Regions from separate parts of the Homo sapiens genome. Here regions 2, 3, 4, 5 and 6 are each linked to region 1. Evidence: promoter capture Hi-C in 16 types of primary human blood cells and fetal thymus (Javierre and others, 2016). All regions are on one chromosome and are shown on one strand. Each heading gives the region's core, a stretch centred on a gene start or on the middle of the fragment in contact. The rest is flanking DNA. Distances are from core to core; before and after follow the strand shown.

The links. Contacts are between HindIII fragments. The CHiCAGO score rates a contact against its expected background, and 5 or more counts as called.
Region 2: a fragment that was not itself captured here is called in contact with the fragment with the promoter of OSGEP in region 1 in 4 of 17 cell types (naive B cells, erythroblasts, total B cells and 1 more); the score reaches 7.7 in naive B cells.
Region 3: a contact is called between a fragment that was not itself captured here and the fragment with the promoter of OSGEP in region 1, in 13 of 17 cell types (megakaryocytes, erythroblasts, M0 macrophages and 10 more). The highest score is 9.9, in megakaryocytes.
Region 4: a contact is called between a fragment that was not itself captured here and the fragment with the promoter of OSGEP in region 1, in 9 of 17 cell types (total CD8 T cells, naive CD4 T cells, naive B cells and 6 more). The highest score is 7.5, in total CD8 T cells.
Region 5: a contact is called between a fragment that was not itself captured here and the fragment with the promoter of OSGEP in region 1, in 8 of 17 cell types (total B cells, total CD8 T cells, naive CD4 T cells and 5 more). The highest score is 8.0, in total B cells.
Region 6: a fragment that was not itself captured here is called in contact with the fragment with the promoter of OSGEP in region 1 in 16 of 17 cell types (naive CD4 T cells, megakaryocytes, naive CD8 T cells and 13 more); the score reaches 13.1 in naive CD4 T cells.

The regions. Positions count from the first base shown.
Region 1 is chr14:20,452,907-20,457,693 of GRCh38, reverse strand. OSGEP (O-sialoglycoprotein endopeptidase) reads left to right here and starts at 2,882. Exons shown (of 11, transcript NM_017807.4): 1 at 2,882-3,125. The coding sequence starts at 3,011. APEX1 (apurinic/apyrimidinic endodeoxyribonuclease 1) reads right to left here and starts at 2,468. Exons shown (of 5, transcript NM_001641.4): 1 at 2,300-2,468; 2 at 1,991-2,116; 3 at 1,593-1,780; 4 at 834-1,026; 5 at 1-703. The coding sequence starts at 2,048. The coding sequence ends at 186. It overlaps PIP4P1 (phosphatidylinositol-4,5-bisphosphate 4-phosphatase 1), which reads left to right. Exons shown (of 7, transcript NM_144568.4): 7 at 1-13. RefSeq lists silencers at 310-604, 4,232-4,787, enhancers at 2,205-2,424, 2,845-2,934, cis regulatory regions at 2,486-2,491, 2,507-2,512, 2,525-2,557, 2,568-2,573, 2,570-2,611 and 2 more and promoters at 2,359-2,693, 2,358-2,895, 2,525-2,969. The HindIII fragment of the contact is 3,687 bases long and covers 2,363-4,787 here.
Region 2 is chr14:20,705,875-20,710,412 of GRCh38, reverse strand. It overlaps LOC124903282 (a long non-coding RNA gene), which reads left to right. Exons shown (of 2, transcript XR_007064061.1): 2 at 1-620. EGILA (EGFR interacting lncRNA) reads left to right here and starts at 3,472. Exons shown (of 4, transcript NR_174964.1): 1 at 3,472-3,666. The HindIII fragment of the contact is 3,301 bases long and covers 1-3,031 here.
Region 3 is chr14:20,595,120-20,599,589 of GRCh38, reverse strand. It overlaps RNASE11-AS1 (RNASE11 and RNASE12 antisense RNA 1), which reads right to left. Exons shown (of 5, transcript NR_122043.1): 3 at 2,771-2,914. Among named protein-coding and RNA genes, the nearest start is that of RNASE12, 6.0 kb to the right of the region's middle. The HindIII fragment of the contact is 1,307 bases long and covers 2,351-3,657 here.
Region 4 is chr14:20,653,746-20,658,320 of GRCh38, reverse strand. TRY-GTA4-1 (tRNA-Tyr (anticodon GTA) 4-1) reads left to right here and starts at 764; the gene lies at 764-857. It overlaps LOC124903281 (a long non-coding RNA gene), which reads right to left. Exons shown (of 2, transcript XR_007064059.1): 2 at 1-616. The HindIII fragment of the contact is 684 bases long and covers 1,174-1,857 here.
Region 5 is chr14:20,636,454-20,641,143 of GRCh38, reverse strand. It overlaps OR6S1 (olfactory receptor family 6 subfamily S member 1), which reads left to right. Exons shown (of 1, transcript NM_001001968.1): 1 at 1-448. The coding sequence ends at 448. Among named protein-coding and RNA genes, the nearest start is that of OR6S1, 2.9 kb to the left of the region's middle. The HindIII fragment of the contact is 1,027 bases long and covers 2,595-3,621 here.
Region 6 is chr14:20,615,720-20,620,602 of GRCh38, reverse strand. It overlaps the pseudogene RPS26P9. Among named protein-coding and RNA genes, the nearest start is that of TRT-TGT3-1, 4.3 kb to the right of the region's middle. The HindIII fragment of the contact is 1,926 bases long and covers 1,959-3,884 here.

The sequences.
Region 1 (4,787 bases), core at 1,633-4,132:
AAAAAACAAAAAACCCTCAAATAAAAAATCTTGGGCTTAAAAGAACTCTATCACAGGAGCCTGGTTGGAGGATTCCTAGTTTTATACATGAGAAATAGAATGCAGATTTCTCTGAAGAGTGTTTAAAGAAGGAATGGTAGTTGAGGGGGCTTATTTCCCAGGCTCAAAGTGATTTAGGGGTGGTGTCACAGTGCTAGGTATAGGGTGATAGGACAGTGATCACTGCCGAGGGCCTTGGAACGGATCTTGCTGTCACACAATGCAGGTAACAGAGAGTGGGACAACAAAAAGTAATCAAGGCGCCAACCAACATTCTTGGATCGAGCATTCATCATATAAGTCCAAAAGGTGTAGGCATAGGGTGTGTTGGGGTAGAGGTGCCTAAAGCTGTCAGCCAGTGGCACAGCCTGCAGTAATTCCCCGAAGCCTTGGCGCTCTTGTGGCGTGAAGCCAGCATTCTTTTTGTTCCCCTTGGGGTTGCGAAGGTCAATTTCTTCATGTGCCACATTGAGGTCTCCACACAGCACAAGGGGCTTTCGGGAAGCCAGGCCCTTCAGGAACTTGCGAAAGGCTTCATCCCAGCGCTGCCGGTACTCCAGTCGTACCAGACCTCGGCCTGCATTAGGTACATATGCTGTTACCAGCACAAACGAGTCAAATTCAGCCACAATCACCCGGCCTTCCTGATCATGCTCCTCATCGCCTATAGAAATGAAACAGAATTAGCATAAAAAACTATAAGAAAAGGGAAAGCAATCAAGAGGTGGGGCAGAGATAGAGAATTAGCAATTGGTTTTGAAGAGTTCAGGCATTAGGCATCAATAGGGTCTCACCTATGCCGTAAGAAACTTTGAGTGGGCACTGGCGGGAAAGCAGGCCCACGCCACTGTACCCTTCCTTGTCCGAAGGAGCTGACCAGTATTGATGAGAGAGTCCAGGCAGCTCCTGAAGTTCAGCTGGTAGTTTGTTCTCTGAACATTTGGTCTCTTGAAGGCACAGTATATCTGGGGCTTCTTCCTTTACCCACTGTAAGTGAAAAGAAAGGTGGAAAACGTATTATCAATTCAGCAGAACATTTATTGAATAATCTATATGCTAAGTCATAGATACGCACGGGTTAAACAGTCTCTTGGCCTAAGGAGTTCGAGTCAAGCAGCACAATATTCAAACAATTCTAAGCTAGATAAATGAAAACAAATATAGAGAGGTAAGAAAGTCTTACATGCTATGCCAAGGAGATGTGTTTTTTCTATAGGCAGTGGATAGCAAGCTAAGATTTTTAAGCTATGGTTAATGGAATGGAGGACATGCTTCATATGGAATGCAATGCAGGAAGATAAAATGGAGGAAGTATAGTGAAGAGGTTTTTGCAACATTCTGGGAAGAGGAGAGAACACTAAAAAAGAAAATGGCAATGGAAGTGAAGGAACAGACATTTAGGAAATACAACTGGCAAGACTGGGGAAGCCCCACAGAAAACTACGGGCAGGAGAAAAATAAAACAGCCTGAAGGCTAAACGGAGAAAAGGGGTGACTAAACCCTAAGACCATTCAATACTAAAAAATGTCTCTTTCCCTCAAATTCCACTCACATCTAATCCTTTCTTCTTAATCCAGGCTCGAAGCCCATCCACATTCCAAGAGCAGATCTTGAGTGTGGCAGGTTTGCCACTGGGTGAGGTTTTCTGATCTGGGGGGTCCTCATACAGGGCTGGGCCCTCTCCTGCTGCCTCTTTGTCATTTTTCTTTGCGGCCGTCTTACTCTTCTTGGCCTCTGGCTCTATAAAATGAGTAATATATACTGACAAAAAGCTGGTGGTTTCCAACTGCGATCCGGCGTTAACTATAGACCCAACGAAAGCCTACGGTTCCTGCGACTTCTTCACAAACCCCTGCAAAAATGAGTCGGCCCGTACTTACCGTACATCAAGGGAATGACAAACACCCCCGCCGCAGCTTCTAGGAAGAAGGGCTGATTTCATTCCCTTACCTGTCCTGAGCTCATCCCCGTCTTCCGCCACCGCTCCCTTTTTCCCACGCTTCGGCATTCCCGTTACGAACGCCCTTGGGCAGCTGTACCGCGTCACCCACCGAAGCAATATTTTTACCGCGTTGCCTACAGACGCAAAGAAATCATGAAACCAGCTAAGGCTGGGGAGAAGACTCCTCCCAAGAGCGTCCCCGCACCAGGTCCCGCCTTTCAAACCACGTTATCTCTAAATCCTTTCCCCGCCTCCGTGCATCATAGGCCCTTCAGCCCCTCACCCACGAAACTAGATCATTTCATAGTGCCTTGTACCCTACTCGCGAGATCTGCCCTCCAGCCAATTGAGGATCTTAATTAAGGGTCCTGACTCAAGCTTGCCGTTCAGACTGCCAGCGAAGCCCCTCTTATGAGCAAAAGAGCAACCCCGTATCTGCACCGGCCCGATGGCAGCCTAGCTCCTCCTAACCCGAGCACAAAGAAGGGTGCACGCTGAGCCCCCACGTGGGTAGCGGACCTGGTCACGTGATCAGAGGCGCGCTTGTCGTGGCCGAAGAATGCGCGTGATTGGTCTGTCTGACACCACGTGACGGAGACGCTTAGCCTCGCCTCCCTCCTCTAATTCTCTAGGACACTTAGGTCCCCAACCCTCCCTCGGGCTGTTTATCGTTGTGCCAGATGCACAGCACATTGTGTGACACTGACTTAAGATTCTAACTATGTGCAAGAGGGAAAAAAACAGTGGAGAAGGCTGGGCTGGACCACGGGAAAGAGATAGGAAAACGGATACGAATGTAAGGCACAGAGTTGGCTCGGCGTCCCTGGCAGTTAGGAAGACAGGTCCCTGGAGGGGCCTTGGCGGGTCTCCGCTCGCGGGAGTTCCGCGGTGTCTTTCCCAGTGCTATCTGCAGGCTGGCCAGCTTCCTCTGCGCTCCGGAAAGCTGCGGCCCAGCGCGGACTAGTGAGGACCTCCACAGCTCCTGACATTGCCAGGAGTCCTGTCGGCGTTTTCTCCCAGCCTCCGCCATGCCGGCGGTGCTGGGTTTTGAAGGCAGCGCCAATAAGATTGGCGTGGGCGTGGTGCGGGATGGCAAGGTGCTGGCGAACCCGCGGCGGACTTACGTCACGCCTCCTGGCACAGGTTGGTGAGTAGGGGACTTAAGAGTTTTCCGCGCACTTCCCCGCACAGAATCAGCCTTCCATCTTCCTAAATACTAGTGAGGTGCAGCTTTCGATCCGAGTCTCATTGAAATTATGTGACATTATTAACGTCACAAGGCTGATGACTAGAAGAGTTACAGGCACTTGGACGTGGATCTGATGAGTTCATTTACCTTTTACTGAGCGCATTTTATGTGCTAAGTATTCAGAAATAGATGTTATACTGCTGTGGAGTCAGACATATAAATAGATGTTTATACTACAGCATGATAAACAGTATAATAGAGATGGACTCGAAATATTCTGTTTAAAAAACGCTTAGCAGGAGTATAGATTCCAGTTGCCCTGAATATACACTCCCTTTTTAAAAAAAAATTATTTTTTGAAATATTCTAGGATGAGTAGAGAGATGAGAGTGGAAAGACTCCCGGCTTACATGTCAGACAGAACTGGCTGGCTTTGCTATATTCATATTAAATATTTTTGTTTTGGACATTTGGTCTTTATTTTTTATTTTATTTTATTTTTTTGAGACAGAGTCTTGCTCTGTCGCCCAGGCTGGAATGCAGTGGCACGATCTCGGCTCACTGCAATCTCTGCCTTCCAGGTTCAAGCGATTCTTCTACCCCAGCCTCCCAAGTAGCTAGGACTATAGGTGTGCGCCACCACATCCAGCTAAATTTTGTATTTTTAGTAGAGTCGGGGTTTCCACCAGGCCAAGCTGGTCTCGAACTCCTGACCTCAGATGATCCGCCCACCCCAGCCTCCCAAAGTGTGGAAATTACAGGCATGAGCCACCGCTCGGGCCTGGTCTTTGTTTTTAAAATGGGAATAATACCTGTATCATTAGGTCTTGAAGATTAGATGAAAGTACCAAACACGGCTGGGCGTGGTGGCTCACGCCTGTAATCCCAGCACTTTGGGAGGCCAAGGCAGGCAGATCACCTGAGGTCGGGGTTCGAGACCAGCCTGACCAACATGGAGAAACCATGTTTCCACTAAAAAATACAAAAAATTAACTGGGCGTGGTGGCGCATGCCTGTAAACCCAGCTACTTGGGAGGCTGAGGCAGGAGAATTGCGTGAACCCGGGAGACAGAGGTTGCAGTGAGCCGAGATGGTGCCATTGCACTCCAGCCTGGGCATCAAGAGTGAAACTCTGTCTCAAAAAAAAAAAAAGTACAAAACACATTACAACTTTTAATTGATATTTTAAATAAGCTATTATATCTTGCTACTCTCCCCTCAAACACTTGCATACATAGGAGAGGGCAGCTGACTTGCATGTATCTGAAAAGCCTCCCTGAACAGGTGATGTTGTGACAGATACTCACTAGAAATATATATGTATGTTTAGCATTCACTCCTCTGGGCACTTGGGCACTGGGAATACAAAGATAAATAAAATACTCAATGCTTTGAGATATTCATGATTAAGCTGAGCAAACCACAGAAAATTATAATGCTGTAATTGTTATGTTAAATAAATGACATCATCATGCATAGAGTTCTGTAGGGTCACAGAGAAAGAAGATCACCAAAGGCCAGGCACGGTGGCTCAGGCCTGTAATCCCAGCACTTTGGGAGGCCGAGGCAGACGGATCACGAGGTCAGGAGTTCGAGACCAGCCTGGCCAATATGGT
Region 2 (4,538 bases), core at 132-2,631, 250 kb before region 1:
AAACAAAACAAACAAACAAAAAAACCAAAAAAAACCCCTGGCAAAACTCTATCGGGAAACAGATTTAAAATGGTAAAGGGTTTTACCTATTGCCCTGCTATGGATTGGGGTAGCACCCTGAAGTGGGCTTAAATTAAGCCTTTTTGAAATTGTGTGTGGGAGACCCTTCTGAAGTTCTTGGCCAGGGACCCCACCCTTGGACTTAATAAATTAATCAAGAATTAAACAATATGTACAACAACTAAGACATAAATCACTAACCCTGCACAAGTTTGTTCTTTTTGTTCTTTCCAGTTTTATGTGTCTTACAAAAAAGCCCCTTCACCCTTTTCATCCAAGGATAAAGTGCCGCTAAAATCTTGGTAAAAACAAGGACTGGACCAACAACAGCCAGCCAAAAAGTGGACAGGTCATTATGATGTTTTATTAACTACTCATTCATCTGTTAAGCTGGCTGGAGTCAAACCACGCATACATCACATTTCGGTAAAAATCGCCCCTCCCCAACCTGACACAGCAGACAATCAACCTGGTTGGACTTGTGAGCCAACTGGAGAACTGAAGCTACTGCTTAAGAAAAATCTTTTTGTACTATAGGATTAAATTTCTGTTATTCTTTATCATAATGAGTAAACTTTTTTGACATCTGCTAAAACTAGTCTATTTCTACAGTGGGCATAACATTATGCAGATAGTCTACACTAAGATGCTTGCTGGGTATGTGGATTGCTACCCATCTCTAGCACTTCTGGGCTACTTTAGTGAGTATCACCCCTGCAGGGGACTGATTAGATACATTTACAAACGTATATGAAAAACTGTTCATGGGAAAATCAGGACCTTGGTAACTTAAGGTAATATTTTTTAAAAATGGCCTGGCATTAATATAACGCTTCAGAATCCAGATCCTGGAAAACTCTTCATTATAACCGGACTATCCAAAGGACCTCTGAGTATGCAATCCCTCTCTTAAAGGAGTTTTCCTAGATGGCCCCCAAGATTTTGGCTACTAATAACCATTACACGGTAGGTGAGTTTTTATCAAATTTGGGACGATTACCTCTGGATGATCTCCACTATTAGTCACTTAACCCAAATTGCCACTTCATGTTGGGAACAAAGGAATCACTCTTAGAATCATTGGCCGAATGTTACTAAAAATGTGGATAGGATGCCTCTACATCAATATGAACATTCTTTAGTGCTATATTAGACAAACCTGTTTACCACTGATTGGACACAGACCCAAAATTTGGTGGCTGGTCCCCAGTGGAACTCAATAGTTATGTGAAACTAATCTTCGGCCATGTCTACCTGATGGATGGATAGGGCAGTGCACGTTAGGACCCCCATAGGTCCGGGGCTGATTAACAAAAACCACCAGGCAGCCTGCACACTTTCCAGATGTGTTACACCAATGGACCAGGCCGGTTTTCCCTTCCTACGACCATCTCCTGTCCCTTGTTTTCCCCCAAGCAGGCTTAGAAAGCATCATCTGGCATATTGAGGCACTTACAAATTATAGCAAGTGCTGAAAGACACATTTAAGGGCATCTCATTAGTAACCTCTGAAATGACTATGATGGGAAAAGTAGTCTTGCAAAACCACATGGCCCTTGATGTACTCACAGCTGCTGGGAGGGACCTTGACCCATAATTGAAACTAAATGTTTTGTGTATATCCTAGGTAATTTGCGAAACATCTCCTTAGCCCTTCAAGACGTGCACAGACAAATCAATGCTATGTCTGACCCCACAATGTTCCTAAACCAGTGGTTATCTTCATGGTTTGGATACGGACCTACTTGGTGGAAAAAACTGCTAGTAGTTCCAGCTATGATTATAGGAATAGGTATATTCTCTATGGGTTATACTCTTGTTGCACCATATGTGTGATATTGCAAGATTGTGTTTTCCTTAATTGGAAAGGCTCCTAACTCCCAGGTCAATGATGCTGTAAAAAATCACTTCCATAAGTCAAGGAATGCATGAATACTTCCAACTCCAGGTAAATAAATTCCATTCTTCAGCTCCCTAGTGATGCCCTCATTCAGCAGGAAGTAGCTAGAAAGAAATTGACACCTGATCTCCCATAGAAATGAAACAGGAATTGGCAGTGGGGAGTTTGTAGCTGGAATAATCAGCCTGCTTCAATAATGAATAGCCTCACCCTTTGATTTATTCAGTATCTAGCCGTATCCTTGCTTAAGAAACCCAGGGGCTAATCTTGAAATAAACCGGGCATGAATTTGAGATTGTGGAATCCTACATTCTCAGAAAAATCACTGAGGGGGGTTAATCCATAAGCTAGTTGCAGTCATGGTGATGCCAGCCAGACCTCCAGGTGATCCGTTACTGAAGATAGCCATCAGAGTAAGACATGCAAACCTGCACCCTGCACCACTCCTGCTCATAGTTTCCATGCCTCCTACTTCTTAAAATCCCTTTAGCTAGCCTAAAATTTTGAAATAGTCTTTGAGGCGCTAGTCCACCATCTCCTCAGGTTGCTAGCTCTTGAATAAACCTGCTTTTCCTGCACCAACTCTTGTCTTGCAAGTCTTGCTTTTGAGCAGTGAGCAGTGATCAGCTGACCCTTAGTTTGGTTACACTATCACTCAGGAAATTCCAAGCATTTTAGAAGGTCTGTGGCAGGAACCAGGAACTAAGTTCAAATTTATTTTTTATTATACCACAGGTCCCAACTCCCATGACTACCTGGATGGTGACAAAGACGAATTATCTCTTCATCCTTCTTTCTCACTCTAAATATACACAGACATGCTATTAGGAGGGAAAACTTTCCCTCTACCAACTTTGGTTCAGTGGGTGGGAGCCTGTGAATTAACTATAGACAGGTTAGCAGGGGGAAAGAAAACAAGTTGTATTCATAACTTGTGGAAGCATTCAGATGAAGAGGCTTGATGAAGAGCTAGAGACAGAAGTTTAGTTATCAACTCATAGGGGAAAAGAAGGAGGGAGAAATGACTTCTATAGGAAAACAAATGACTTTTGGGAAAGACAAATAGAAGCTTTGGATAAAGTTTTACACAATTTTCTTGGAATATCTCCTGTCTGGGTGAAGTAATCCTCACACGGTTAACAAGAATCCTGGACAAAAATATAATTATGAGTAAGTGTTAATCAGGCTACACTTTGACCCACTTCCTTGTAACCAAAACTCACGAACACTAGCTACTGATAATTTGCATTCTCATTGTTCCCATAGATAAGATCTTTGACATTAGAATCATAAGGCTTTTGTTTAAGAATTGTTTATGCAGATCCTGAATTCCGGCAGAACAGCTGACACCACCAACTTTAAAGAGCCCAACTGATGAACTGATCAGCATGAGAATACTGTTTTTTCATCTCTCTGTCCCATGACTTCACTCTGCATTCTTCAACCAATTAGTGATCTCTTATTTCCACCTACTCCAAATCCTTAAAAACAACAGCCTCAAACTCTTTGAGGAAATGGATTTGAGGTTTCCTTCCATCTTTTGGTTCAGCAGCCCTGCAATTAAACCTCTTTCTCTGCTGCAACCCAGTGTCTTGGCATATTGACATGCTGTGCACATCAGGCAAAAGACCTATTACCATTACATGAGGACCCCTCCGGAGGGAGATAATGGTGGGGGCATTTCTGGGAGGCTCTGCTTTAGTCAGGTGAGAGAAGTTCAGGTAAGATTTCTTTCTGTATCTGCTGTAATTCAAATGTTTTCAGTTTTGTCAGTTTTGCCCTTAAACATGTGCACACACACACACACACACACACACACACACACTCACACTTCCCTTCTTAAGCAGCTAGCATCTTCATATATCTCTGCTCCTGTCATGTGCGTCCATGTGAAGAGACCACCAAACAGGCTTTGTGTGAGCTATAAAGCTTTTTAATCACCTGGGTGCAGGCAGACTGAGTCCGAAAAAGGAGTCAGCAAAGGGAGATGGGGTGGGGCAGTTTTATAAGATTTGGGTAGGTAGTGGAAAATTACAGTCAAAGTGGGTTATTCTCTTGCAGGCAGGGGCAGGGGTTACAAGGTGCTCAGTGGGGAGGTTCTGAGACTCATTGTCTAGGAGAAGGAATGTCACAAGGTTAATTGATCAGTTAAGGTGGGGCAGGAACAAATCACAATGGTGGAATGTCATCAGTTAAGGCAGGAACTGGCTATTTTCACTTCTTTTGTGGTTCTTCAGTTGCTTCAGGCCATCTGGATGTATACTTGCAGGCTTGGGCTCAGAGGTCTGACATTTCCTGTCTTCTTATATTAATAAGAAAAACAAAACAAAATAGTGGTGAGGTGTTGGAGCGGCAAAAATTTTGGGGGGTGGTATGGAGAGATAATGGGCAATGTTTCTCAGGGCTGCTTCAAGTGGGATTAGGGGCAGCATGGGAACCTAGGGTGGGAGAGATTAAACTGAAGAAAGATTTGGGCATCAAGGGTGATATTGTGGGGTTGTTAGAAGGAGCATTTGTCATACAGAATGATTGATGATGGCCTGAATGCAGTTTTGTATGAATTGAGAAACTGATCAGA
Region 3 (4,470 bases), core at 1,755-4,254, 140 kb before region 1:
TGAGATCGCACCACTGCACTCCAGCCTGGGCAATAAAGCAAGACTCCATCTCAAAACAACAACAAACAACAGCAACAAACGAACAAAAACCTTGAGTTGGAAGAAAGCCCAAAGAGTTGAGGGAACTAAAAAAGCGGAGTGCATGGCAGGAATATGAAGATGGAGAGAGAGTGGTCTGAGGAGAGGCCATCTATGCAAGGCCTGGTAGGCAGAGGTGAGGACTGTGGTCATTATCTTAAGACAAATGAAAAGCCATTGACACATTTTAGATGAAGAAAGTGGATATCACAGGCACATAACTGGATTTGTGTTTTAAAAAGATCACTGTGGTGCAGTAGGGTTGACAAGGTGTGAAATGAAGGATTTGTGCAGTACCCTCATAAGCCCCTAGGCACTGTTCCAAACCCCCTCCTACAACCTCACCTGTCCCCTTGTCCAGGTGGAGTAGACAGACTGGGGCCTGTACGTGTCCAGAACAAGCTGTTGGAAACGTGGCTGAGCCCCTGGGAGCCACGTTTCAACTTCCTAATACACAAGCATAGAGCCCTGCTTCAGAGAATGGTATAGTTTGAGGTGCTTTTTCACCTCTAAAACTGTGAGTTGTTTTCACCTCCTCCATCCCACCAATTCTGCCAACTCCCGGCCACTTTAAAAGGAGGCCAGTGAGACCCATGGAATGAAGCTCAGGGTCACAGAACTAGTTAGTGGCAGGGCCAGTGTCAAGCCAGGAATCCAGCTTTCACAACTCTCGGCTCACTGCTCATTCTGCTCTAGTTAGGTGGTTATGAAAAGGGAGTTTCTGTGTTTTTTTTGTTCTTTGTTTTTTGTTTTTTTCAAGACGGAGTCTTGCTCTGTTGCCCAGGCTGGAGTGCAATAGCGCAATCTCGGCTCATTGCAACCTCCATCTCCCGGGTTCAAGTGATTCTCCTGCCTCAGCCTCCCGAGTAGCTGGGACTACAGGCGCGCGGCACCACATCTGGCTAATTTTTTGTATTTTTAGTAGAGGCGGGGTTCTCCGTGGGAGTTTCTGTTTTTACCACATCTGGGTTCTTTAGGGCCTTCGTGATTATTTGGGATCAGGGGACATTTATATTATTTCAAGCCTGGGAGTGCTATGAAAGATATGAATGTCCGGGAGGTGCCATAGGGGAAGGCTGGCTAATGGTCCTTCCTCAAGGAGAATTCAAAGGGAACTTTTGAGGGCTGAGCCTGGGGACACACAGGAGAAGCCAGATAAGCTATGATCAAAGCATTCTCAGAAGTGGAAAACTGAAGGCACCGGCCTACCCAGAAGCTGTTAGAAAGACACACTTAGGTAACTTTCCCTTAGCCTGGTCTTCCTTGGGCTATTGCCTGGTGGCAATCATTTCAGAGACGCGAAGAAAGTTATAAAGCAAGAAATGACTTGTTTTTCCCCAAGGGAGAACAGGACCTCCTATGTGCATAGCACAGGGCTATAACTGCAGGGCTGAGACTGATGGCTTCGTCAGAACATGTCCTGCCCACGATCAGGAACAGCTTGTTCTGGACACACACAGGCCCCAGTCTATCTACTCCACCTGGACAAGGGGACAGGTGAGGTGGTAGGAGGGGGTTTGGAAGAGTGCCCAGGGGCTTATGAGGGTACCGCACAATCCTTCATTTCACACCTTGTCAAGAAAACAGCTCTGCAATTGCCAAAAGTAGACAATGAACCCTCCAGAGCAGGGGTGTCTCGTGCCTTTTTTCCCCAGTAGTAAGTGTTCCCGATTTAGGAAGGTGTCCCTTCAACCGAATGCCAATTCCTAGGCAAGTTCACAGAACTGCTCCACCACACTCATGAGTCAGCTCCCACTTCAGGGTCTGGTACCCAGGCTCCAGCTTCCCGGTTGCTACTGCTCCCCTGCACTCCAGGCTGGGAGGCAGAGACCACCTCCTATTCCCTCAGGGTGGGGGAAAATAAAACTTGTGGCCAGAGCATTGTCATCTTAAGAGAACAGCCATGGAGTCCATTTTAATTTAGCTCAGAACTTTAGTTTGTGAAAGCAGAGCGAGATCTTACAAATAATCAAATTCTTCCTTTATTCTTTCTTATTACCCCCATTTTAGAGTGGAAGCAATGCAGACCCTGAGCAGTGACATGACTTCACAGCTACTTACTGGCAGAAGAGGGGAAAGATCTGACATCTTTCACCCATTCATCCACTCCACAAACATTTTTTGATCTCTTCAGAAATACCAGGCACTGTGCTAGAGAGAACAAGAACATTCCTCTTGCTCTCCAGAGGCTCACAGCATGCAAGGAGAAGGCCAGATGAATCGCCTGTAGCACCACTTAGGGAGTTATGTGCTGGAACCACACAGAAAAGCTTCTTGTAGACACTCAAGGAAGAGAGGGGGGTGGTTAGTTTAAGAAGGGGTTCCTGGAGGGGTTGGTAAAGTCCCATGGCCTTTGCATTGCTCTTAGAAATATTTCTTGACATGTGAACTTGCATTGGGTGACTAAGAGTGTGTGTGAACCAGCCTAGATTTCCTCATGAGCAAGGCCTACTTCCACTGTTAGAAAGAAACTCAGGATATCACCTGACTCTTTTCATCACCAGAGTAGGAGGTGAAAATGGTTCGGGGGGCTCCTTAGTGAAAATACACAGAAAAGGAAAGAAATCGGTACCCAGTTCAGAGGCACTTTCAACCTTTTTGTCTTAAGAGAGGTGCTCAAAGTGCTCAAAGGTAGCTTCTGGGTGATAGAGAAGTAGGAAAAGTCTAGAAAATTGTGGAGTTAGGGGAGCACCTTTTGCTTTAAATGACCTTCCTGCATCCAAGGTCTTCCCAGCTCCTTCACTGCCAGTCACACTCCTGGGCCATGCTGCCATTTTGTAGATTTCAAAATTATTCGAAGAGTAGGTTTTAAATGTTCTCGCTATTAAAAAAGGATCTGCACTATTAAAAAAGTAATGGATATGTTAATTTGCTTGATATAATCATCCCACAGTGTACTATATATATCAAAACTTCACATTGAACCTCATAAATATATAAAATTATTATTTGTCAATTAAAAATAAAAATCTAAATTAAAAAAAAGTCTGACTAGATAACCTGGTGGGTATCCACTCCATAATATAGTTGAATTAGTTCTTAATATTTTCTTAAAGTGTTTTATGGTTTTAGAAAAGTATATATGAATAATTCTGAGTTTCTGAATGATAGTGTGAACAGAATCTGAAGTGCTCACCTTGAACTGTTAAGCCAAGAAGAAATCACTTTCTAACTTCTTTAAGTCACTGGATTACTGATGATGTCTTTGTTTTTTTGTTTTGTTTTTGTTCTTGTTTTTTTGAGATGGAGCCCCATTCTGTTGCCCAGGCTGGAGTGCAGTGGCACGATCTCGGCTCACTCCAACCTCCGCCTCCTGGGTTCAAGTGATTCTCCTGCCTTGGCCTCCGGAGTTGCTGGGATTACAGGCACACGCCACCATGCCTGGCTAATTTTTGTATTTTTAGTAGAGACAGGGTTTCACTGTGTTAGCCAGGCTGGTCTCCAACTCCTGACCTCAGGTGATCCGCCCGCCTCCACCTCCCAAAGTGCTGGGATTACAGGCATAAGCCACTGCGCCTGGCCTGATGATGTCTTTGTTACAGCAGCTTATCCTTACCCTGTGCACTCTTCCCAAAAGCTTCCAGCTGTGCATCCTTTCCTTCTCACTGGCCCCACATGAATGGGATTACCTTGATTGACTCAGGGCCCAGCAGATTCACACCCAGATCCCCAGCAGGTTCCCTTGAAGCTCATGGTTATGTGGAGAACTGGTACATTCTCAAACAATATTAGTGCTTGGTTAGAAAGGCAGAAAGAGAAAACCTGTAATGGCTAGGACTACTCTGATCATCCTATTTAAATTTGCACAACACCAGCTGGGTGCAGTGGCTCACGCCTGAAATCCCAGCACTTTGGGAGGCCAAGATGGGTGACTTGCTTGAGTCCAAGAGTTACAGACCAGCGTGGGCAACATAGCAAAACCCCATCTCTACAAAACTACAAAAATTAGCCAGGCATAGTTGTGCATACCTGTGATCCCGGCTAGTCGGGAGGCTGAAGCATGAGAATCGCTTGAGCCTGGGAGGCTGAGGTTGCAGTGAGCCGCGATTGTGCCACTGCACTCCAGCCTGGGCAACAGAGTGAGACTCTGTCTCAAAAAAAAAAAAAAAAAAAAAAAAAAAAGTGCACAGCACTTATTATCCTCTAAAACACTAAAGTATTGATTATGCTTATTTTTCATTGTCTATCTCCTTCCACCAGATGTAAATTCCATGAGAGTAGGAATTTAATTTTTAAAAAATACTTATTTGCAAATATACACAAAAGTAGAAAGAATAGAATAATAGATCCTATTACACCTCTCCTCCTAAAAGCAACAATTATAAAAAATTTGCCAGAGATTTTTTTTCTCTCTTCCCGTTTTCCTCCTCCCTTTTTCTTTCTTCGTTTCTT
Region 4 (4,575 bases), core at 266-2,765, 200 kb before region 1:
TCACACTTCTGTCCTCTACCTGGCTTCTTGTTTTTCAAAGAAACCCACAGAACTTTGCCCTACTTCAGAAATCAGCAGCTTCTGATTGGAATTCTCAGCCTGTTTGCAGAAGAGGGTATCTCACATGTGCCTCTGCAAGCCTGGGAGAGATTTCCTCACCTCACTTCCCAGTGCACCTCAATGCACCAAAATGTGAGCATAGACTACTATGAGGAGAAGGGCGGGGCACCTGGGGAGGAGGGCCCTGTGTGTGTGGTAGGGGAGGGAGTAGAGAGGCCAGACTATTATGGAAGCGCCCATTAGAGACCTGCACCAGACTCTGAGGTTGGGTTGGAGTTGTCAGCTGCCTATCCAGCGCCCATTAGGGTTCTCCTCTTTTCCTCCTCCAGCGTTCTCTCCCCGACTAGACCCACCCAACCACCTCGCCAATCCCTGTGCCCTCGCTGACTCACCTTCTCATTTTCTCTCAGGCCACTGGGGGCTGTCATCCTCACCTGTAGAAAGGTGGATGCTCAGGGAGAGGAAGGCTGTCACAGATGAGAGCTCCTCCTCGTGGATGGTGGCTATCAGAGCCCGAGAGACACCAGGCATCCTCGCCCAGAGGATTTGCTCCGCCCTGAAAGGGGTGTGGTGTCAAGCGGCGCAGGGTTCTCTTCCAAGGTGGGTGCCAACCAACCCAACGCGTATTGGACCTCAAGCATTCCAGGGATGTGGCTCCCTCTGTTTGCAGAAAGTCCAATGAACCAGCTTTGATAGCATGCATCCTTCGATAGCTCAGCTGGTAGAGCGGAGGACTGTAGATTGTATAGACATTTGCGGACATCCTTAGGTCGCTGGTTCGATTCCAGCTCGAAGGAAGTGCGTGATGCTTTTGGTTAAAAGCCCTGCAGCTTCCAAGTAGTAACCACACTCTCCCGGGCAAAACACCCACGAAGTCTTTCCTGATCACCTAGCTTCCCACGCCTTGCTTCTACTTTGTGACCCCACTAATCCCTCTATTCATGCTGACCACTACTTCCCCACCCTGTGCTCCTTCGCTTTTCTTCACAGACTGCTCTCGAGCTTGAGCATCTCCACTGGCTGTGACAAAACCGCTGTGCTCACCTTTGACAGAGCTCTCCTGACCAGGTGGGCAAAGCCTGGAAGGTCAAGTTCCCTGGAGAACGTCAAGCTTACTTGACAAGGGTGTAAAGTGGGGATAACCGTGGTATCTTCCGTGAAAACTCACCCTCTCACTCTCATCCATCTCAGGCTCTTTATCACTGCATTGAGATCTGACAGTCTCATGTTTGTCTCTGTCTCATTCTCTTTCTCTCTTTCACCGTTTCTCTGTCTCTGTATATTTCTCTTTGTCTCTGTGTCTCTGCCTCCCTATCTCTCTTCCCTGAGCCCTCAGCCTGCCCCTCTCATTCTCCTTGGCTGGAAATGTATAGACCTATACAGGCGTAAAGAAAATGTTCATTCCCACTTTGCTGTGTCTACTTTGGGGAGACAGCTGTCACCCTGAGAATTTCCTAATCCTAAGAACTTCCATTAGCAAGGTCAGGTTGCCCTTTAGGTTGAGGACAAGGTGAGTCTATCCCCTATCCCCATAGCTTTTCCCAAATCCCTCAAGCCTCACTTTTTCTGAGCCTTCACAACTTTTCATGCTGCTACAGCGGAGTTTGGCCCCTGCTAGAAAAGAAAGGACCTAATATTCAGTTCAAAGCCAGCAAAAACACCTGTGTTGAGTGCCCTGCTACTTGAGAGGGTAAGGGAGATGGAAGGGGAGTACAAAAGTGCAGGCTGGAAAAGAGCTTCAGTGATCCTGGAGAGTTAGAGGCTGTTGGGTCCATGGCAGGGAGCAGAAGTAAAGCTTGAGTGACAGCTGTCATTATACAGAGGCACACGAATTCGCTGCCTTAGGCCACTGCCTGGTGGGTCTGAGCAGTTTGGAGCTTTGGGACTAGAGGCACAGTTGGACTCTACCCTCACCCCAAAGGAAAAAGTGCTGAGGCCTAATCAGAGAGAATGAAGTAGGAAATGGACTTAGGTTTTCTCCAACGAACAGGGGTTACACCTCCAGGGAGATGGAGTGGGTTCTGTGGGTATGGGGCAGAGAAGAAAGCCAACAAGCGTTCCTTGGTCTCATCTCACCATCTCAGAAAAAATCTCCAGAGATTTGATGCGCACATGCAACCTATCACAGAGAGCACTCCAAGCCAAATGGCCCATGGGAACGTGGCCCTCTGAAACCCTCTGGGGACTGGGACACCTGCCTCCACTACCTGCTGTGGCCACAAGAGCTGTTTCATTGCAGGTCTCAAACTGAAGACTACACAGGTCTTTCTTGGGAAGCAGCTCCTGATCTCCCTCCACCTCCCTATTTCCCCCAATGTTCCCCTGGCTTTGTCAGCCTTTCCTGCTTCTCATTGCTAACAGAAGGAGGCCAAGCTGTGGCATCGCCAGTGCCCAGGATGATTCTATGGCTTTGGAGCCACAGAGAGATCCCTGCCTCCAATGACACCAAAGGCAGAGGCTAGCGAACACAGACGAAATGTAGTACCTTTGTCCCTTATTGGATAAGTTCATGATGGGATATAGAGACCCCCAGGTTCTTCGGAACCTCTGTTTAGTGTTTTGGTGGGAAAATCAGAGGTGAGCCAGTGAATGGGCTTTGGTGGCCAGCACAAGCAAGGTTGAAACCTGGGTACCAACTCTTCCTGTTTGAGCCATGACAGAGTAGCTGGGTTCTGTGAGCATCTGACCCTTGCCCTCAGAGATCCAGACCCACTTGCCATAAGACAGGGAGTGGACTTAAACTCAATGGTGGCCAGGTTCCTTGGATGTGGCTTGCTGCACCTCCAGTAGGTGTTCAGCTGGGGGGTGGGTGTCCCAGTGGTCTTGGGGTAGTGGTGTTGCGGGAAGTCAGGGACCCCAAACAGAGGGACCGGCTGAAGCCATGAGAGAAGAATGTGGATTGTGAAGATTTTATGGACATTTATTAGTTCCCCAAATTAATACTTTTGTAATTTCTTGTGCCTGTCTTTACTGCAATCTCTAAACATAAATTGTAAAGATTTCATGGACACTTATCACTTCCCCAATCAATACCCTTGTGATTTCCTATGCCTCTCTTTACTTTAATCTCTTAATCCTGTCAGTTGAGGAGGATGTATATTGTCTCAGGACCCTGTAATAATTGCGTTAAGTACACAAATTGTACAGCATGTGTGTTTGAGCAATATGAAATGTGGGCACCCTGAAAAAAGAACAGTATAACAGCAATGTTCAGGGAATAAGAGAGATAACCTTAAACTCTGACCGCCGGTGAGCCGGGGGGAACAGAGCCATATTTCTCTTCTTTCAAAAGCAAACGGGAGAAATATCGCTGAATTCCTTTTCTCAGCATGGAACGTCCCTGAGAAAGAGAATGCGCACCTAGGGGTAGGTCTCTGAACTGGCCCCCCCCGGGGCGTACCTGTCTCTTATGGTCGAGATTGCAGAGGTGAAATAAACTCCAGTCTCCCATAGCACTCCCAGGCTTATTAGGAAGAGGAAATTCCCGCCTAATAAACTTTGGTCAGACCGGTTGATCTCAAAACCCTGTCTCCTGATAAGATGTTATCAATGACAATGGTGCCAAAACTTCATTAGCAATTTTAATTTCACTTCGGTCCTGTGGTCCTGTGATCTCGCCCTGTCTCCACTTGCCTTGTGATATTCTATTACCCTGTTAAGTACTTGATGTCTGTCACCGACACCTATTCGTATCTCCCTCCCCTTTTGAAACTCCCTAATAAAAACTTGCTGGTTTTTGTGGCTTGTGGGGCATCACGGATCCTACCAATGTGTGATGTCTCCCCCGGATGCCCAGCTTTAAAATTTCTCTCTTTTGTACTCTGTCCTTTTATTTCTCAAGCCAGTCGATGCTTAGGAAAATAGAAAAGAACCTACATGATTATCGGGGCAGGTCCCCCGATATAGTGACACACACCAGATAAGATCTGAAACATTGTCAAACACATGGGGTCAGGGTAAGCAGTCCAACACTGACACTTCTGTCTTCTACTTCACCCATCCCCTATTTTTTTTTTTTTTTTTTAGACAGGGTCTCTTCTGTCACCCAGGCTAGAATTCAGGGGCATAATCATAGCTCACTGTAGCCTTGAACTCCTGGCCTCAAGCAATCCTCCCACCTCAGCCTCCCAAGTAGCTGGGACTACAAGCTTGTGCTACCACACCCAGCTAATTTTTGTAATTTTTGTAAAGATAAGGTTTTGCCGTGTTGCTCAGGCTGGTCCTTGCCCCTTTGCTTTTTCAGAGCCCACAGAGCCTTGTCCTACTTCTAGAAGTTGCAAGTGGCAAAATATTTCTGATTGGTTTGCAGAGGAGGGAAGCCAACCACCAGATTGGCCCCGAGGGAGGAGGGGTATTACATGTGCCTCTGCAATCCCTGGGAGGGGTCTCCTCACCTAATTCTATTTGTTCTTTCCCTCACTTCCCAGTACACCTCAACGGGCCAATACGTGAACTTAGGATACTGTAGGTAGAAGGCAGAAAGCGCATCGGGAGGAAGAACGGGGGTGGGGGATG
Region 5 (4,690 bases), core at 1,859-4,358, 180 kb before region 1:
CAGTGGCCCACTGCTCCGCCTGGCTTGCACCAACACCAAGAAGCTGGAGGAGACTGACTTTGTCCTGGCCTCCCTCGTCATTGTATCTTCCTTGCTGATCACTGCTGTGTCCTACGGCCTCATTGTGCTGGCAGTCCTGAGCATCCCCTCTGCTTCAGGCCGTCAGAAGGCCTTCTCTACCTGTACCTCCCACTTGATAGTGGTGACCCTCTTCTATGGAAGTGCCATTTTTCTCTATGTGCGGCCATCGCAGAGTGGTTCTGTGGACACTAACTGGGCAGTGACAGTAATAACGACATTTGTGACACCACTGTTGAATCCATTCATCTATGCCTTACGTAATGAGCAAGTCAAGGAAGCTTTGAAGGACATGTTTAGGAAGGTAGTGGCAGGCGTTTTAGGGAATCTTTTACTTGATAAATGTCTCAGTGAGAAAGCAGTAAAGTAAAAGTGAAGAGTCTAGTAACTAGTCTTTTTTTTTTTTTTTTTTTTTTTTTTTTGAGAGAGAGAGAGAGAAAGTCTCACTCTGTCGCCCAGGCTGGAGTGCAGTGGCGCGATCTCAGCTCACTGCAACCTCCACCTCCTGGGTTTAAGCAATTCTCCTGCCTCAGCCTCCTGAGTAGCTGGGATTACATGTGCCCACCACCACACCTGGCTAATTTTTGTATTTTTAGTAGAGATGGGGTTTCACTCGATGACCAGGCTAGTCTCAAACTCCTGGCATCAAGTGATCCACCCACCTCAGCCTCCCGAAGTGCTGGGATTACAGGTGTGAGCCACCACACCTGGTCTTGTTGTCATTTTTAAAAATCATATTTTAAAATCCAAATATTCTCATTATCATGCTCCTTTCCGTCTTCATTATGGATATCACCAAAAGACTGAATTCTGGAACTACTAATGAATTCTCAGGTCATCAATCCACCTTCTTCTCTTTCAGGCAAAATTTCTTGATCCTAGATCATACCTAATAATAATAATACTTATTATTATTATTGATATATCGTGATCAATATCATCGCCACTTCCTAAGACCTTCCAACCTGTGAGTCTTAACCTATGGGTCCATGGTCATGTAGGGAATCTAAGGATGGGTTTCAGAAAATTTATATGCCCAATAGGTATCTAAATTTTATGTGCTTGAATATATATGCATTTGTCTGAGAAGAGGGACTGTAGCTTTAATTCAACATTTGAATCCATTCGTGCACTCTCCTCAAAAGCTAAAAACTGATTGCAAGTCTAAGTAGAGCCTTCCAACTGTTTATGCAAGTCAAGAATTTTAAGAAAAAATTCCTTATAGATATAAAATGAAATAAAAATAGATTATCTGTATATTTTTGTACATGCTTGTTAGAAAAATTTACATTTAATGCTAGAGGAAAAAGAGGTGAAGCAAATTTAATAAAGGGACTTAATTACTTCTCTGTGGTAATTCCAGGTGCTGTTGGGAAAGCAGATCAGTGAGGGATTTCATGAGTAATAGCATTTACTGTATTCTTCTAGTGTGCACTTTAGTACATTGATAAAGACATCTCCACTCGTTTTGTCATTGGATTATGTTTCATTCATTTGTTCATCTTTTTACATTCTTGTATCTGTTGTGTGAAATCTTCTTTTGTTTTTAGTAAAATAAGGAGCTTTAATATTAAAGAGTTAAGAATGCCACATAGGCTGGACACGGTGGCTCACGCCTGTAATCCTAGCCCTTTGGAAGGCCGAGACAGGCTGATCACCTGAGGTCAGGAGTTCCTAGACCAGTCTGGCCAACATGGCGAAACCCCGCCTCTACAAAAACACAAAAATTAGCCGGGCGTGGTGGCGGGCGCCTTTAATCCCAGCTACCAAAAAGGGTAATTTCATATAATTTCATTATATAAGGAGGCATTATATAAGGAGGCAGGAGAATCACTGAACCCAGGGGGCGGAGGTTTGCAGCGAGCCAAGATCGTGCCACTTCACTCCAGCCTGGGCGAAAGAGCAAAACTCCATCTAAAAAAAAAAAAAAAAAGAATGCCAAATGCCAAATATTGTTGTATCTACCAAGAACCAAACTTTGTAGTAAATTTTGTCTAGTTTATTGGACATTTGAAAAGGGATTCCTATTCATGGAAATCCCTTTGGAAATCTTGGAAACAAATATTTATTTATTTATTTATTTATTTATTTATTTATTTATTCATTCATTCATTCAGCAAAGGTCTGTGAAGAATCTTTGTTGAACACTGTGATATATGAATATATACAAAGATGAACAAGAATAAATTGTTTCTAACCTCAAGCAGCTTGAACTTTAGAGTTTAGAACTAAGGGACGGATAATAATTTAAGGAAATGTGGATGAGAAGGAGATTTACAAAAGGACATTGGAGATCTTATAAAAATTGGTTTACTCTTCCCAGTGCATTTTCTTGTTAGAGAAATTTTCACAGAGGTCATCATTCATTAAACAGGATTTGTCACGTTAGAGTGTGTGTACATAGGAACGATGTACAAAACATGTAAATATCAAGGTATCGACAGCATACTAAACTCAAAATAGTGCTGCAAAACTGGCAAAGTGCGTATTAGCGTCAAAAGAGTTAGCCATAAGCTTCAGTGGGCATGGAAAATAGAAATGTTTTTATCTAGTTCTATTCATAATGCATGCAAACACACTAGATAATTTTATTCCAAAATATTTCTGAGTACTAAAGGAATGGAAAGAATGATTCGAAGGTAAAAATAACTCTTCTGGAGTGATCTAGAAGTGTTGCCCAGAGAGGAGATGAAATATCGCCTTAAAAATTACCTAGTTTCATGAAACATAAAAATCTGAAGTCTATTCCAGCCACTGGCCAAGGAAAGGAATTCATGCAACAATTTACAGCATTTCTTGAAGTAATTGCCACATATTATGGCAATAAAGCATGTTAAACCATCCATTTTCAACATGTGTTTCATTGTGAAAAATAACTTTGGGCTCAATTTAATTCAATAAAATTTGTTGAATACTGTGTTCTAGGAAGTAAGTTGGTATGTTAGAGGTACAAATATTGGCCCCTGCCATCAAGGAATTCATAGACTTTTGGGGTAGACATAATACATATGAATATATAAATATATAATTTTTTTTCTGTTTTTGAGATGGAGTCTTACTCTGTTGTCCGGGCTGGAAACCAATGGCGTGATCTCAGCTCACTGCAACCTCTGCCTCCCGGGTTCAAGCGATTCTCCTGCCTCAGCCTCCCGAGTAGCTGGGATTATAGGCACGTGCCACCACACCCAGCTAATTTTGTATTTTTAGCAGAGACGGGGTTTATCCTTGTTGGTCAGGCTGGTCTGGAACTCCCGACCTCAGGTGATCTGCTAGCCTCACCCTCCCCAAAGTGCTGGGATTACAAGCGTGAGCCACCGCGCCTGGCTTCGAATTTCTATAAAGGTACCATGACAAGCGTCTTTATTCATACTATTATATGAAATAAATTTGCCTGAAATTTTGGTATGATGGTATGTGTAGATTGAGTGCGCATGTGAATGTGTGCATGCATATAACAGTGATACAAACTTGTGTGTCCATGAAAGTTTGTGATTAAATAAAAGAATAAATAAAAATCTGTTTATTGATATTTATTTCTAAGCTTTCCTTTCAAAGATCTTACCTTCATTGACATGAAATTTGTATTTTGTTTTTAAACATACAGTTAAGACAGAATATACTTAATTTAGAAGAAGTAGAAAATGCTTCTGTTTGCATCATTTTACATATAAAACTCTGAATAAGGCCAGGTGCAGTGGCTCACGCCTACAATCCCAGCATGCTGGGAAGCCAACAAGGGGGATTGTTTGAGCCTGGGATTTCGAGGCTACAGTCAGCCAAGATCGCATCACTGCACTCCAGCCTGGGCCAAAGGGTGAGACCTGGTCTCAAAAATTAAATAAATAAATGAAGCTCTTAATGACATCATTGATAATGACAATGATGCTAAACTCAGCAAGCATATGTTACTCTTTATACTTACCTCAGCAGAGTTTGGCACAACTGATCTTGTCCTCTTATTTGAAATAGTCAATGTGTTCTTTGTTATTTATTTATTTTATTTCAATTGTTTTGGGGGAACAGGTAGTTTTTGGTTACATGAAGTTCTTTAGCGGTGATTTCTGAGATTTTGGTGCACCCATCACCCGAGCAGTGTATACTGTAGGCAATATGGAGTCTTTTATCTTTTAGTGCCCTCCCACCATTTCCCCAAGTTCCCAAAGTCCATTATTTCCTCCTTATGCCTTTGCATCCTCATAGCTTAGCTCTCACTTGTAAGTGAGAACATACAATATTTGGTTTTCCATTCCTGAGTTATTTCACTTACAATAATGGTCTCCAACTCCATCCAATGCCATTATTTTGTTTCTTTTTATGGCTGAGTAGTATTCCATGGTGTATATGTACCACTTTATTTTTGTTTTTTTGAGCCGGAGTCTCACTCTGACACCCAGGCAGGAGTGCAGTGGCACGTTCTTGGCTCACTGTAACCTCTGCCTCCTGGATTCAAATGATTCTCCTGCCTCAGCCTCGCGAGTAGCTGGGATTACAGGCATGCACCACCATAGCTGGTTAGTAGAGACAGGGTTTCACCATGTTGGCCAGGCTGGTCTCTAACTCCTGGCCTCAAGTGATCCACCCACCTCCATCTCCCAAAGTGCTGGAATTACAG
Region 6 (4,883 bases), core at 1,672-4,171, 160 kb before region 1:
AATCTTAACAAACTCCCCAAAAGTTAGAGTATGCATTAAATTTTGAGAAATACTCTATGTACCAACTTCTGTATCAGATGTTCTATGTTCATTTAGAGCATCTGAAAATTCCCACCAGAATCTTTCTGGATCAGTCTGCAGCAGAAGACACGCACTACATTGCAATGTAAAGCTCTGTTCCTAGCTCCAATAGAGAGCCATGCCCCAGTCTGGGCATGGTGGCTCATGCCTGTAATCCCAGCACTTTGGGAGGCCTAGGCGGGCGGATCACGAGGTCAGGAGTTCAAGACCAGCCTAACCAACATGGTGAAACCCCGTCTCTACTAAACATACAAAAATTAGCCGGGCGTGGTGTTGTGCGCCTGTAATCTCAGCTACTTGGGAGGCTGAGGCAGGAGCATTGCTTGAACCTGGGAGGCGGAGGTTGTGGTGAGCTGAGATCGTGCCATTGCACTCCAGCTTGGACAATAAGAGTGAAACTCTGTCTCAAAAAAAAAAAAAAAAAAAAAAGCCATCCCCCTATTGGCCTGAGGACCCCTCTATGTGCTGTAAAATCTTGCTCAAAATTAAATACTATATTTAAATTAAATAATATTTTTGATGACTCCATCAGATAGTCAATGCTTTCAGCATTTATTGAACCCGACTTACTTAGCTCTGATATGGTTTCATATGGTTATCACATTGACCATCACAGTAAAGCAAAGTACTGTGATTGTACTTAGAAGTTTTCTATGCAGTGGCTCACGCCTGTAATCCCAGCGCTTTGGGAGGCTGAGGAGGGCGAATCATGAGGTCAGGAGTTCGAGACCAGCCTGACCAACATGGTGAAACCTGTCTCTACTAAAAATACAAAAAAATTTAGCCAGGCGTGGTGGCACACACCTGTAATCCCAGCTACTTGGGAGGCTGAGGCAGGAGAATCGCTTGAACCCGCGAGGCAGAGGTTGCAGTGAGCTGAGATCACACCACCGCACTCCAGCCTGGGCGACAGAGCAAGACTGTCTCAAAAAAAAAAAAAAGTTTTCAAAAGTAAATGCTCAAAGTAAAAAGAGGGAAGGGAAATTTCCTTATACTCAGCAGGGAGATTTAAGCCCCTTATTTCTAGTTTGTATTTGTCTTTACACTTTTCACTGAACTTCATTGGAGAGATGGGACCAGAGGGATTTCATGGAGTAATCCAGTGAAATCAATCACCTCTGCAAGCTTCAGGTGAAAAGAAATGCAATCTTTGAACTATGGTATGATCAACAGGAATGGAAAGGGGAAGGATATGAGGCATTTTTTATTCTTTGTTTCTGTCCATCCTTCTGGTATCATTGTCCTCCTTCACCTACTCAGTCCCCATAAATATTGTAATAGTCTTGGTGCTTTGGGTTTAAAAAGATCGTGTCTGATGTACAATTTAATTTCTTCTTTGATTTCCCTCTACTGCTTTTCCTAGTCCCTGACTTTAATTCCATAGTGTACCAAGTGCTCAAAACACAGTCAGCTTCTCAGTGAACACACAGGAGTGTTTATAATGGGTTTAAACATTTGAGGCAAGCCAGTGGGGTGCATGTGCCAGGAAGCCTTTTGGGTCTCGGAAATAGAATCTTGCCCACTTCACATCCACCAAATAAATCTGTGCTTATCATTTGATCAGGTTTGGGGAGGAGCAGAAGACAAACAAGAATATTATCCTTGCTCATTGGGAACTTGAATTTGAATAAAAGAAAATATCTTCTCCACCTTTTACAATATATACAATACAAACCTAGAAGAATGAACAAACACACAGAGACACACACTACAGTTAGATGGCAATACAAGTGGTAACTGATAATCACCAGAGTGAGTGTAGCCTCAGTTTCCAGAAGGTAAGATGTCTGTGGAAATCTGAAGAAAACTTTGAGAAAGTACAAATCGAGGCAAGTACGTGTGTGTGTGTGTGTGTGTGTGTGTGTGTGGCTAAAGCTTTGCAAACTCACGTTCCTTGATGTCTGAGATAAACAGTCTATGTATCTTGGAAACCAGTATGCCTGTCATAGGTGTTCGTGGATGTTGTTACAGTGAATAATTGGTTGAGTCCTGGTAATTGTGCCTACTTTTCTGGGATATAAATTCCTGACCTTTAAAAATATTCTATAGCCAATGAAGCTGAAAATTACAAAGTCTTCCCCAAAGGATGACATAATAGTTTCCTTTTCTGAACAGAAGCTCCTTGAAATAGTGCACTGTCATGTAAATAAGTATCAGTCATTAGACTTCATTCTTCCTGCTTGGTTTACTAGAAATTCAGTCCTACCTAGACCCTAGACAATCTATCCTGGAAAATTAGTAGTAGGGTCCTTGACAAAAATATTTAAGCTGAATCTAATCATGAGGAAATAAGTAAATATTGAACTGAATCTTATATGAGGAAATAATCACATTCAGAATGTGAGACTTCCTGTAAGACAACTGCCATGAGAAAAGAAAGTCTAAGAGGAGGGGAATTTTCTAGATTAAAAGAGACCAAAGAGATGTTACAACTAAATGCAGTGAGATATATTGTTAGAATTTACATTATTTTAATAGGGAGTGGGTAAGTGGGGAAATCTGAATATGGACTGTATGTCTACTAGCATATAAGGAATTATAAATTTTCTTGGGTGTGTTATGGTACTAATATTCTGCTCTTGGATAGTACATGTAAACAGGGGGAAGGGTAGGTAAGAAGGATGCAAATGTTCCTAATAATGGGTGTTCTAGTTAAAGGGTATACAGGTTTTACCGTACCGTTTTTTTAACTTTTCCCTAGGGTATTACTATACAAACAGACAGTGGCCAGAACATATATAAAAATAGACCTCTGACCAGCACTAACCTACAACAGCCAGTGCAGGAAGTCAACCCACAGTGACCAGCACAGGAAGCCAGCCCATTATCTCTCTCTCTCTTTTATTTATTTATTTTTTTGAGACGGATTTTCACTCTTGTTGCCCAGGCTGGAGTGCAATGGCACTATCTTGGCTCACCGCCTATCACTGGCTATCTCTGCCTCCTGGGTTCAAGCAATCCTCTTGCCTCAGCCTCCTGAGTAGCTGGGATTACAGGTATGCACCACCACGCCAGGCTAATTTTGTATTTTTAGTAGAGACAGGGTTTCACCATTTTGGTCACGCTGGTCTCGAACTCCTGACCCTCAGGTGATCCGCCTGCCTCAGCCTCCCAGAGTGCTGGGATTACAGGCGTGAACCACAGCGCCCGGCCAGTCCATTGCCTTTAAGCCAGACTTTTAGGAAGTCAGACCACTATCTCTAAGCAACCAGCCCAGGAAGCCAAACAATAACCTCTGTAAAAACCAGACCCAGTGGCTAGGAATTTATGAATAATTAACACCTTTCCTATTATTTGTTTCTGTTTCCAAGTTAGCATCAACCAGAGAAAGCCAAATATGCATCCCTAACCAATCACATAGGATGCCCCGCTTCTAGTTAGCCTGCCCACCGTGTCCCCATGCCACAGTCTCCAGTCAGGGCACACTTGAAGGCTTCCCTTTGTCCACTATAAAGTTTTCCCACTCCTCTGCTTGCCTTTGAGTCTCTGCCAAATCACAAGTGACGTTCTTTTGGGTCCCCACTTCCAAGATGGCAAAGAAAAGAAATAACAATGGTCATGCCAAAAAGGGCCACAGCCACGTGCAGCCTATTTGCTACATGAATTATGCCCTATGCCTACCCAAAGGCAAGACTATTAAGAAGTTCATCATTCAAAACGTAGTAGAGACTGCACCTGTCAGGGACATTTCTGAAGCTAGTATCTTTGACGCCTATGGGCTTCCCAAGTTGTTCGTGAAATTCTGTTACGGTGGGAGTTGTGTCATTCACAGCAAGGTAGACAGGAATTAATCTTGTGAAGCTTGCAAGGACCGAACACCGCCACCCTGATTCAGACCTATGGGTGCTGCCACATGACCCCTACCAAAGCCCATATAAGAAGGTGAGTCCTTAAGGATTGAAGAAAAACTCTCTCTAGAGAAAAATAATATGGAAATTATATTTTTAAAAAATCACAAGTGAAGGCTGCTAACTCCTTTGCTATAGAAAGCTCTGAATAGCTTTTGCTGGTTCTCATTAACTGGTGTTCATTTATTTCCACATTAGGATTAAAGTTTTTCCAAATGAAAAGTTGAGGGGAAATGGAAGAAATACAGACAAACAACAAAAAAAGCAATTAAAAATATTGCTAAGATTACAACTAGGGGTCAAGTTGCTCAGCAGAGGAAGTGCTCAGGATGGGCCAGAACACACTGGAGCACAACCAGGTTTGCTGATGCTAAGTCTAATAAACTAGTAGAAGGGGCTTTTGGAGTTTCGTAGCGTCAGACACGCCAACTCGAGTGAATTGTGGAGTAAGGGCCTGGAAGAATGAGAATGTAACATAAGGTCCTGGGACAACCTTTGATGGTAGGAAGTGGGCTGAATGTGGATAGGGTCAATTGGTCAAAGGTTTATTTGTACTGATAGAGGAGTGAGAACCCTCTCCGCAAAGCCAGCCTCTGTCTAGCAGAAACCAGAAACATCAGATCCATGGTTGTTGCCCTGGCTTCTCTCCTTGGAATACTTCTTTGAATATTTTAAATTATTATTATTATTATTATTTTTAGACTGAGTCTGGCTCTGTCGCCCAGGCTGGAGTGCAGTGGCGCCATCTCGGCTCACTGCAACCTCCGCCTCCCGGGTTCAAGCAATTCTCCCGCCCCAACCTCCCGAGTAGCTGGGACTACAGACCCGTGCCACCATGCGCTAATTTTTTGTATTTTTAGTACAGATGGGTTTTCACCGTGTTAGCCAGGATGGTCTCAATCTCCTGACCTCGTGATCCGCCCGCCTCAGCCTCCCAAATTTAAATTATTCTTA